2 separate regions of the Homo sapiens genome follow, and region 1 is linked to region 2. Evidence: promoter capture Hi-C in 16 types of primary human blood cells and fetal thymus (Javierre and others, 2016). All regions are on one chromosome and are shown on one strand. Each heading gives the region's core, a stretch centred on a gene start or on the middle of the fragment in contact. The rest is flanking DNA. Distances are from core to core; before and after follow the strand shown. Region 1 overlaps IDS (iduronate 2-sulfatase). Region 2 holds the start of MTM1 (myotubularin 1).

What was found. The method cuts DNA at HindIII sites, captures the fragments that hold promoters and counts their contacts. A CHiCAGO score of 5 or more calls a contact.
Region 1: a contact is called between a fragment that was not itself captured here and the fragment with the promoter of MTM1 in region 2, in 4 of 17 cell types (non-activated CD4 T cells, total B cells, neutrophils and 1 more). The highest score is 8.6, in non-activated CD4 T cells.

The regions. Positions count from the first base shown.
Region 1 is chrX:149,498,002-149,500,701 of GRCh38, reverse strand. IDS (iduronate 2-sulfatase) reads left to right here. Exons shown (of 9, transcript NM_000202.8): 5 at 2,395-2,595. Among named protein-coding and RNA genes, the nearest start is that of IDS, 6.0 kb to the left of the region's middle. The HindIII fragment of the contact is 4,525 bases long and covers 1-2,700 here.
Region 2 is chrX:150,564,468-150,570,400 of GRCh38, reverse strand. It overlaps MTM1 (myotubularin 1), which reads right to left and starts at 1,780. Exons shown (of 15, transcript NM_000252.3): 1 at 1,739-1,780. RefSeq lists a silencer at 1,299-1,978 and enhancers at 3,263-4,184, 4,185-5,107. The HindIII fragment of the contact is 5,391 bases long and covers 1-3,670 here.

The DNA.
Region 1 (2,700 bases), core at 201-2,700, 1.1 Mb after region 2:
TCATTGAATAGCTCCCCAGTGCTCACGCTGGATGAGACTGAGAGTTGTAGGAGATGCTGAGACATGGGAGGGAGAAAAGAGGCTGAGCTCCAGGAGCCTCAGCCCAGAATGGGAGAAAGGCATGCCGTGTATCTGTCTCTGACCTAATGTGTATGTTCAGCAGCTGAGACCTCTGATAGGGGTTTTGAATTTTTAGAGCATTATGAAAAAAAGTAACCTACAAAGAAAATCTTGGTTTAGAGGAATCCCAAATGTATAAATGAAACTAAAACCCACATTTAAGAAACTCAGAAAACCAGCTAGGGAACTGAGACATGAAATGTATCTCTGAGGTTTTAGTAAACATCGTGTTGGGAAGGGTGAGGATTTGGAAGTGAGGTGGAAGGTATTGTTCTAAGTTCTTGACAGCTTTCCATTTCAGAATACAGTGAAAACTGTGAGCTCTGGCCTTTGGCTTGTGGCTTGAATAGGGAAGATCCCATCTTAATTCCCTGAAGCCATCTTGCTTCTTTTTAGTGGCCTCACTTACGAATGCCAGGTCCCTGCCCTAACTGCCCCCTACCCATTTCTTCTCAAAGTGGTGGGTCTGACAATACTAAATCTCCCTCGAGTGCTGCAAATCGTGTATATATAGATGATGAACAAGTGGTCTGAGGCGGGTGCTGGGCTGTCCTGCCCAAGGGTGGGGTGAGCAAGGCAGGGCTGTGAAAAGGCAACACTCTTTGAGATGGAACAGCAGCTGACACAGCCCCTCGGTCTTTGTGGTATACAAATCATGGTCAGAACTAACTTTGGTCTCACGGCCAGCATGTCTACTTTAGGAAGCAAAGCAGGAGGTTTCATTCTGTGCCTAGTGTAGCTGAAGTTCTGGAAATTCCATGGACTGTCACCTTATCAAGTTGATTGGGACCCTGTCACTTACAAGCCTTAGCCTGTCTTTGAAATTTGAAATGGGTTTTTTTTTTCTTTTTAAATTTTTAATTAAAATAGAGTTCATATACCATAAAACTCTCCCTTTTGAAGTATATAATTTAATGGTTTTTAGCATACTCACGGAGCTATGCAGCCATCACCCAAATCGATCTTAGATCATTTTTATCGCTCTCAAAAGAAACCCTGTACCCATTACCAGTCGTTCCTCATTTTGTCTCAGCACCCAGCGTGGGACAACAACTGAACTATTTTTGGTCTCCATGGATTTGCCTATTTTGTCCATTTGGTATAAATAGAGTCATACACTATGTAGCCATTTGTTTCTGGCTTCTTTCACTTAGAATAATGTTTTTGAGGTTCAGCCACATAACAGTATAAATTGGTACTTCATTCCTTTTTTTTTTTTTTTTTGAGATGGAGTTTCACTCTTGTCACCCAGGCTGGAGTGCAATGGCGCAATCTCAGCTCACTGTAGCCTCCACCTCCCAGGTTCAAGCGATGATTCTCCTGCCTCAGCCTTCCGAGTAGCTGGGATTACAGGTGCCCACCACCACACCCAGCTAATGTTTGTATTTTTAGTAGAGACGGGGTTTCACCATGTTGGTCAGGCTGGTCTCGAACTCCTTACCTCAGGCAATCCACTCATCTCCCAGAGTGCTGGGATTAGAGGTGTGAGCCACCGCACCCAGCCTTTCATTCCTTTTTATGGCTGCATAATTGTCTATTGTACCACATTTTGTTTATCAGTTCATCACTTGATGGATATTTGGGTTGTTTCTACTTTTGACTATTAGGAATAATGCTGCCCTCGACATTTTTGTACAAGTGTTTTTATGGGCATATGTTTTTAATTTTTTTGGGTATAATAACTATGTTTAACTGTTTGAGGAATTGCCAGACTGGCTTTCAAAGTGGCTGCACTATTTTACATTCCCACCAGCAATGTGAGAGGGTTCTAATTTTTCTGCATCCTCGTCAACACTTGTTATTTTCCATCTTAAAAAATTATAACCATCCTTTTGGGTGTGAAGTGGTTTTGATTTGCATTTCCCTAATGACTAATGATGTTAGCCACATTTCCATGTTCAATTGGCCATTTGTATATCATCTTTGGAGAAATGTCTATCCAAATCCTTTGCCCATTTTTAATTGGCATTTTTTAATTGTTGAATTAGAGATGGATTTTTTTTTATAATTAGTCTATCGGGGTTTCTTTTAATTAGTTATGATCTGGAGAAAGAGTATTAGTAGCAAGAAACCAAGTGCTAGTGGATTTCTGGCCCCTGCCTGGAAAACAAGAAACACCTTTTCTGTCTTAGTTCTACTTCTGATGTCTCTGTTCAGTCTGAGTGACTAACACGTGAAGGGCTGATTATGTGAACATTAAATCTGTGTGTGTAGCCTTCATGGCTTCATTTCTTGCACTTAAAAAGCTGATGTTATATTATTTTGTTTTGAAAGACATGTCGAGGGCCAGATGGAGAACTCCATGCCAACCTGCTTTGCCCTGTGGATGTGCTGGATGTTCCCGAGGGCACCTTGCCTGACAAACAGAGCACTGAGCAAGCCATACAGTTGTTGGAAAAGATGAAAACGTCAGCCAGTCCTTTCTTCCTGGCCGTTGGGTATCATAAGCCACACATCCCCTTCAGATACCCCAAGGTGAAGAGCTGGTTGAGGGCTGATCCAGCACAGCTGTGACAGCTGTGTTGTTTGTTGAGGGAGGGATTTGCACAGGGAAGGTGGCTACATCCTGCCATCGCCAGG
Region 2 (5,933 bases), core at 531-3,030:
TCCTTTACTGGAGCAGCAGCTGGCAATCTAAAACTAGAAATTCAAAGTAATGCCCAAGTCATTCTCAATCATGCCAGCCTGTTTCACTGTCATTGTAAGGTTTCAGAGCTCTATTTTTTCTCATAGCGCTCATCTCTGCCAGAAAATATATCATTGTTTATTTTTTTATTGTGTGCCTCCCCACATATAAACTCTATAAGGCAGGGACCTCAGCAGTGGGGCTCTTTGCTGTCTTCCCAGTGCCCACCGTTGGCATTCTTGTGTTTGATGAATGAATGAAACCATCGACAACTTAATAAATGTAGTTAGAACTTTAAGTTAAAGAGACCAATCATTTACTAACTACACTAGAATCTACAAGCCCCCCGTGAATGTTATCCACCCTCAAGCACCCGGGAGGGTACTATACACTGGTGCTGCAGGCAGCACCACTGGTTCAAATCTCCCCCATGGTGTGGAATCTCTGAAAAGTAGATTTGATTTTGTGAAGCAGCCAAAAGCCATTCAGAATCAAATCTGGTGAATACATGATCGTGCCCAATATATATGTTGGATGAAGGCAAACGTGTCTGCAAAGTAACAGGCCTGATTGTCTTATTTGGTTGGTAAACCGATTTTGAAGGAAATTCAAAATGGTTTGCAGTCTAGCAAAATTGCTGGCTCAGTCTCAAGACTCTAAGGTGCTTATTTCACAAGGAATAATACTGAGCTGTGGTAAAAAGAATCCAGACTAGACAGACACCAAGATACCCCCAAAGAGCTGGCTTGTGATATTAGCTTTGCCATTAAGTTGCCCTGAAGCCCGGGACATATTAGTTACCCTCTCTGGGCCTCAGTTCCCCCATCCAGGAAACAAATGAACAATGTAAACTTCAGGATGCCAGTCAATTCTAAAATGCTATAATTTTATTCTTGTGAAGATCTGGTGTATCTGTTTCAAAACCAGTCGCAACCCACTTCGCCTCAAACGATGCGTGCGTCTATAAAGCTCTAATATAATTTTTGCAGCAGATTCACTTCTTACTTGCTTAGGCAAATACTAAAATTAGTTTTCACTTCCTGAGCGCAGCAAAAGACAGTTAAGGGAGGCAACCCGGCCACGGGCGCTTGCTCGTGCCTGTACATACTTCCGACTGCGTATCAGGGAACTAACCGTTCCCTCTAAGATCTTCCCTCAACTGTTGCAAAAGCAGATAAACCTCTCGTGTATGACACAGAAACACTGGCCGAGAGCGGCCATCGAGGCTTCGCGGCCAGTGCCGGGCTGCGGCCGCTCCGCAGGGCCCACCGGGGATGCGACGGACGCCCGCTCCGTGCGGAGGGCCAAGGCGAGGACCAGCCGCGGAGCGTCGCCGGGGAGGCAGGGCGGACGCCCGGCCCACTCACCGCCCCGGGACGGGGAAGCAAAGTCCAGGCAGTGGCTGAGACGTCCGCCCCCAGCTCCACGGCCAGCCAACCCCTACCCCCGTCCCGACCTTCGCCCGCCGCCGGCCGGCCACCTTGGGCGGGGAGAACGGGAGGAAGCCGGAGGTACCTGCCTGCTGCTCCCTGGCCTCAGCCCTGCCCCGCGGGGACAGCGACGGCGCTTGGACGAAACCCCCACCCAACCCTGACGGTGCGGCAAGGCCCCGCGCGACCCGCTGGCCCAAGGAGTCCCAACTTCCTCCTCCCGATCCCCTCACCACGGGTCCCCGCAGTGCCCGGCTCCGAGCCAGGCCAGCCGTGAGCGCGCACCCACCTCGGGCTCCGGGCGCCACCGCCGTTGCCAGGCTGCTCGGCTGCCGGGCCCTGCTCCGCCCCCTCTGGGGTCCGCCCCCCACGGCCTGCCCGCCCCCGGCCACCGCCCGCTGCCCGCCTCCCCGTGCCGGTTGGCGGGACTGCATCACGTGACGGGGCAGGGGGCAGGAAGAGTGCGCCGGGTCGACCTGGGGAGCAGCTCCGAAGGGCGGGGCTCTTCGCCCGAGAGGCTGCTGGGAAGCCCATTTTGAAGGGTCCGACGCATGGAGGCAGCTGGGAATTGTAGTTCGCAATATGGTGCTGGGGATGGGCGGGGCCAAGATGCCAGGGGCCATCCCTGTAAGGGAAGTTGGACTGGGCGCCGGGCGGAGGCGGCTGGGAAGCGTAGTCCCGGGACCCTTGTCTGGGTCTCCCCATTTTTCTTCAGTAAAGGGGAAATCCAGAGGGAAAACTTCTCTATACAAGACTTTAGCGGATGCCACTAAATTGAGCTATTATTGGGTACACAGGGTTGGCTGCGTAAAGTTGAGATAGTATAAGGGAAAAAGAAATTTCACTGACTCTGGGGCAGGATCTGCAATTCACAAACTCAACTAACAGCTGGGGTGTCCCTCAGCTGTGCCAGCACCTTTCCAAGAACGCAATTGAGACTTAGTGAACGGAAACATTTCAGTCCAAAATTCCTTCTACTTGTTGAGGTTTGGGTCAGACAACTATTGATACAGTAAAAAGAAAGGGACAGGAAAAAGAGAAGAAAGGCAAACTTCAAGAAGAGAATTCATTGTGTAATCAAATAAAACAAACAATCTGGGCCGGGCGCGGTGGCTCACGCCTGTAATCCTAGCACTTTGGGAGGCCAACGCAGGCGGATCACCTGAGGTCAGGAGTTCGAGACCAGCCTGGACGACATGGTGAAACCTCGTCTCTACTAAAAATACAAAAATTATCCAGGCGTGGTGGCAGGTGTCTGTAATACCAGCTGCTCGGGAAGCTGAGGCAAGAGAATCGCTTGAACCCGGGAGGGAGAGGTTGCAGTGAGCTGAGATGGCACCACTGCACTCCAGCCTGTGTGACAAAGCGAGACTGCGTGTCAAAAAAATTAAAAAAAGAAAAGACAACCTGGCACATAGAAAAATGAGCATAATATTCTTTGTACTGCATAATACTTATACGCGAGCAGTTCGAGTAAATAGGATGACTTTATCATGACCTGTTTTTTTTCTCTTGTATGTGTTAGTTCTCCAGCATCTAAAAACAGCATTTTACCTGATACCAGTGTATATGTGTACGTGTGTTTCTACATAGTCACACACATATACACATATATTCATATATCATTTATATATGCATATATATATGCTTTATTGAAGAGTCTAGACTTCTTAGAAGAGTAACAAAGCCATCCAGAATCCAACCCAACCCACTCTTTAGCCACTTCTCCCAGTGTGCCTCTTTTTGCTCTTCACCCCAAGCTCTGGCCTAGTTCCAGGGAACTTGATGCACTGGGTTTTTTCTTTCCTCCAGCCCTTTCCACTTGGTCCTCTCTCCTGGATTTGCCAAACTCCTGGAAAGACAGCAGAATAGCAGCTGCTCCTGGGCCCCCGCACAATTAGAAGTCTCCCCCACCCAGCCCTTCTTGTTGTACTGATGTCATCATTTGCTTACACGTCTGCTCTGCCAACTCCCCTCCCCAGACTATGAACTCCTTTGAATCTCATTCACTTTTGTGCTGAATTTCAAAGCACGCTCAGTAAATTTGCATGCTAGAGAGGCTCCCTGGTGGGCTGCTGAATAACTCTGGATTCCTGGTATCTGTGAATCTTAGGGCAGAGGGATAGAGGAAAATGGGGATGGGTGGAGGGAGGGCAGCAGCTGCCTGGGATACCTTGCATATAATAGGCCTGGTTAAGTGTCCCAAGATGAGGCCAAAGCTTTTCGATGGAGCTGGGAGGAGCTGGGGGTTAGGAGGTGGGGAAGGTGCAGAGCAGGGATGGTCTCATCCTAAGGAGGTAATTCCTGAAGATTTTTCCAGGGTCCAGCCCCAGCCCAGCCCCACCTCTAGAAAGATGCAATTCAACCAGAAAGGGCCAGTAGAGAAGATTAGCCTTTGGCCTGTGAAATGGAGAGAGTAACCCCTGCCGTGCCTGTCTCACGGTGTAGGTGCAGAGATCGAATGAGGCAACAGATGAGGAAGCACTTTGAAAACTGTAAAGGTTGTACACTATGGGCTGGGCGCGGTGGCTCAGGCCTGTGATCCCAGCACCTTGGGAGGCCGAGGCGGGCGGATCACTTGAGGTCAGGAGTTCGAAACCAACCTGGCCAACATGGTGAAACCCCGTCTCTACTAAAAATACAAAAAAATTAGCCAGGCGTGGTGGTGGGCGCCTGTAATCCCAGCTAATCGGGAGGCTGAGGCAGGAGAATTACTTGAACCCGGGTGGTGAAGGTTGCAGTGAGCTGAGATTGCACCACTACACTTCAGCCTGGGTGACAGAGTGAGATTCCATCTCAAAACAAACAAACAAACAAGGTTGTACACTATGGAGGGGTTACCGCCTTGCCCTTGGTGACATCGCTGTATTCTTGACTGAGCCTGCCCTCTTCCAGGCTGGGGCTGCACTCACATTTCAGTGTGTGTGTGTGTGTGTGTGTGTGTGTGTGTGTGTGTGTAGGAATCTTCAGGCTTCCCTGCATTTTGCACACATACACCCCCCCATCATGCAGGAGGCCTGTGAGAAGATGGCTGGCCTCCCTCTCCAGGGCTCCAGGACAATAGAGAGGAGGGGGCAATAGATGCGACCTCAGGCTGCTTCTTCCACAACCCTTCTGAGTAGCACAGCCTACACCTGTTTCCGCCCCTCTCCCCCAGAGTCCTCCCGCTTTTGCTAAGGCACAGGCTGGAGGGCTGGAGGCACCTCCTACCTTCAGAGGCTTCATCCTGTTCTCTGCAGTTGGGGGAGGCAGGCTAGGCAGCACCAGGAGGAGCCTGCACTCTGGATTTGGTTGGCTTCATCCCTTACCTCCACCTCTGGCCTCTCACCTCCTAGATAAGAAGCAGGCCCGAGCGAGGAAATGGCCTGTTTCCTGCTACTTCTCCCTTGGCCTCTATGCTCTGATCTCCCCAGTCCCCACTCCTGCCTCAACTTAATCCTACCAGGTTCAATGTATTGGGCCTGAGGCAGGGGAAGGTGGAGGAAAGGGAGGGGCATTCTTACTGAGGAAAGAGAAGGCTGAAGAAAAAGAAAATTAGGAATGAAAAATTTTAAATGTAGCTGTGGGTTACCATGCTCTAGCAGAAAGCACTTGGAACTAGGAAACCTGATTCAGGTCCCAGAAATTCTATAGGCAAGCTGTTGGCCTTGGGAAAGTCACTTCACCTCTCTGATCATTAACTGCTTCCTCTGAAAAAAAGGGGTTGAATGCCACCTCCCAGGGTCGTTGTGTCCCCTTGAGGATAGATGTAAATGTGATGTATAGAGTGTCAAGGCAGCAGAATTCCCAAGTTGCCACGGTGATCACTGGGGAGAGAGATGGGAGAGGATAGGGGGTAAGCCCCTGTGCACTGACACAAAGGTTCCAGGGTTTAAATCCTAGCTCTTCCATTTGTTAGGTGTGTGACTTCGGGCAAGTACACCTCTCCAAACCTCTACTTCCTCATCTGTGAAATGGGTTTTATTCATTAACTCCTTCATAAGCTTGTTGTGAAGCACATGAATGCCAGGTCTAACTTCTGAATCTAGGAGAACTGCAAAGCAGCTCTGCCTACCTCCTCCTCCCCAACCCCAGTCTGTATTTAAAAAGCAGCCTCAGCAGGATAGTGCAGCCCCTTTGGAAAATGGTTTGGCAGTGAATTACAAAGGTAAATGTACATATGGCCGAGCAATACTATTCCTAGGTATTTATCCAAGATATATGGAAACATACGTTCACAAAAAGACGTGTATTCAAATATTCACAGCAGCCTTTCAAAAATAATAGTCAAAAGCTGGGCGCGGTGGTTCACGCCTGTAATCCCAGCACTTTGGGAGGCCGAGGTGGGTGGATCACAAGGTCAAGAGATCGAGACCATCCTGGCCAACATGGTGAAACCCCGTCTCTACTAAAAATACAAAAAATAGCCAGCCTTGGTGGCGTGCACCTGTAATCCCAGCTACTCAGGAAGCTGAGGCAGGAGAATCGCTTGAACCCGGGAGGCG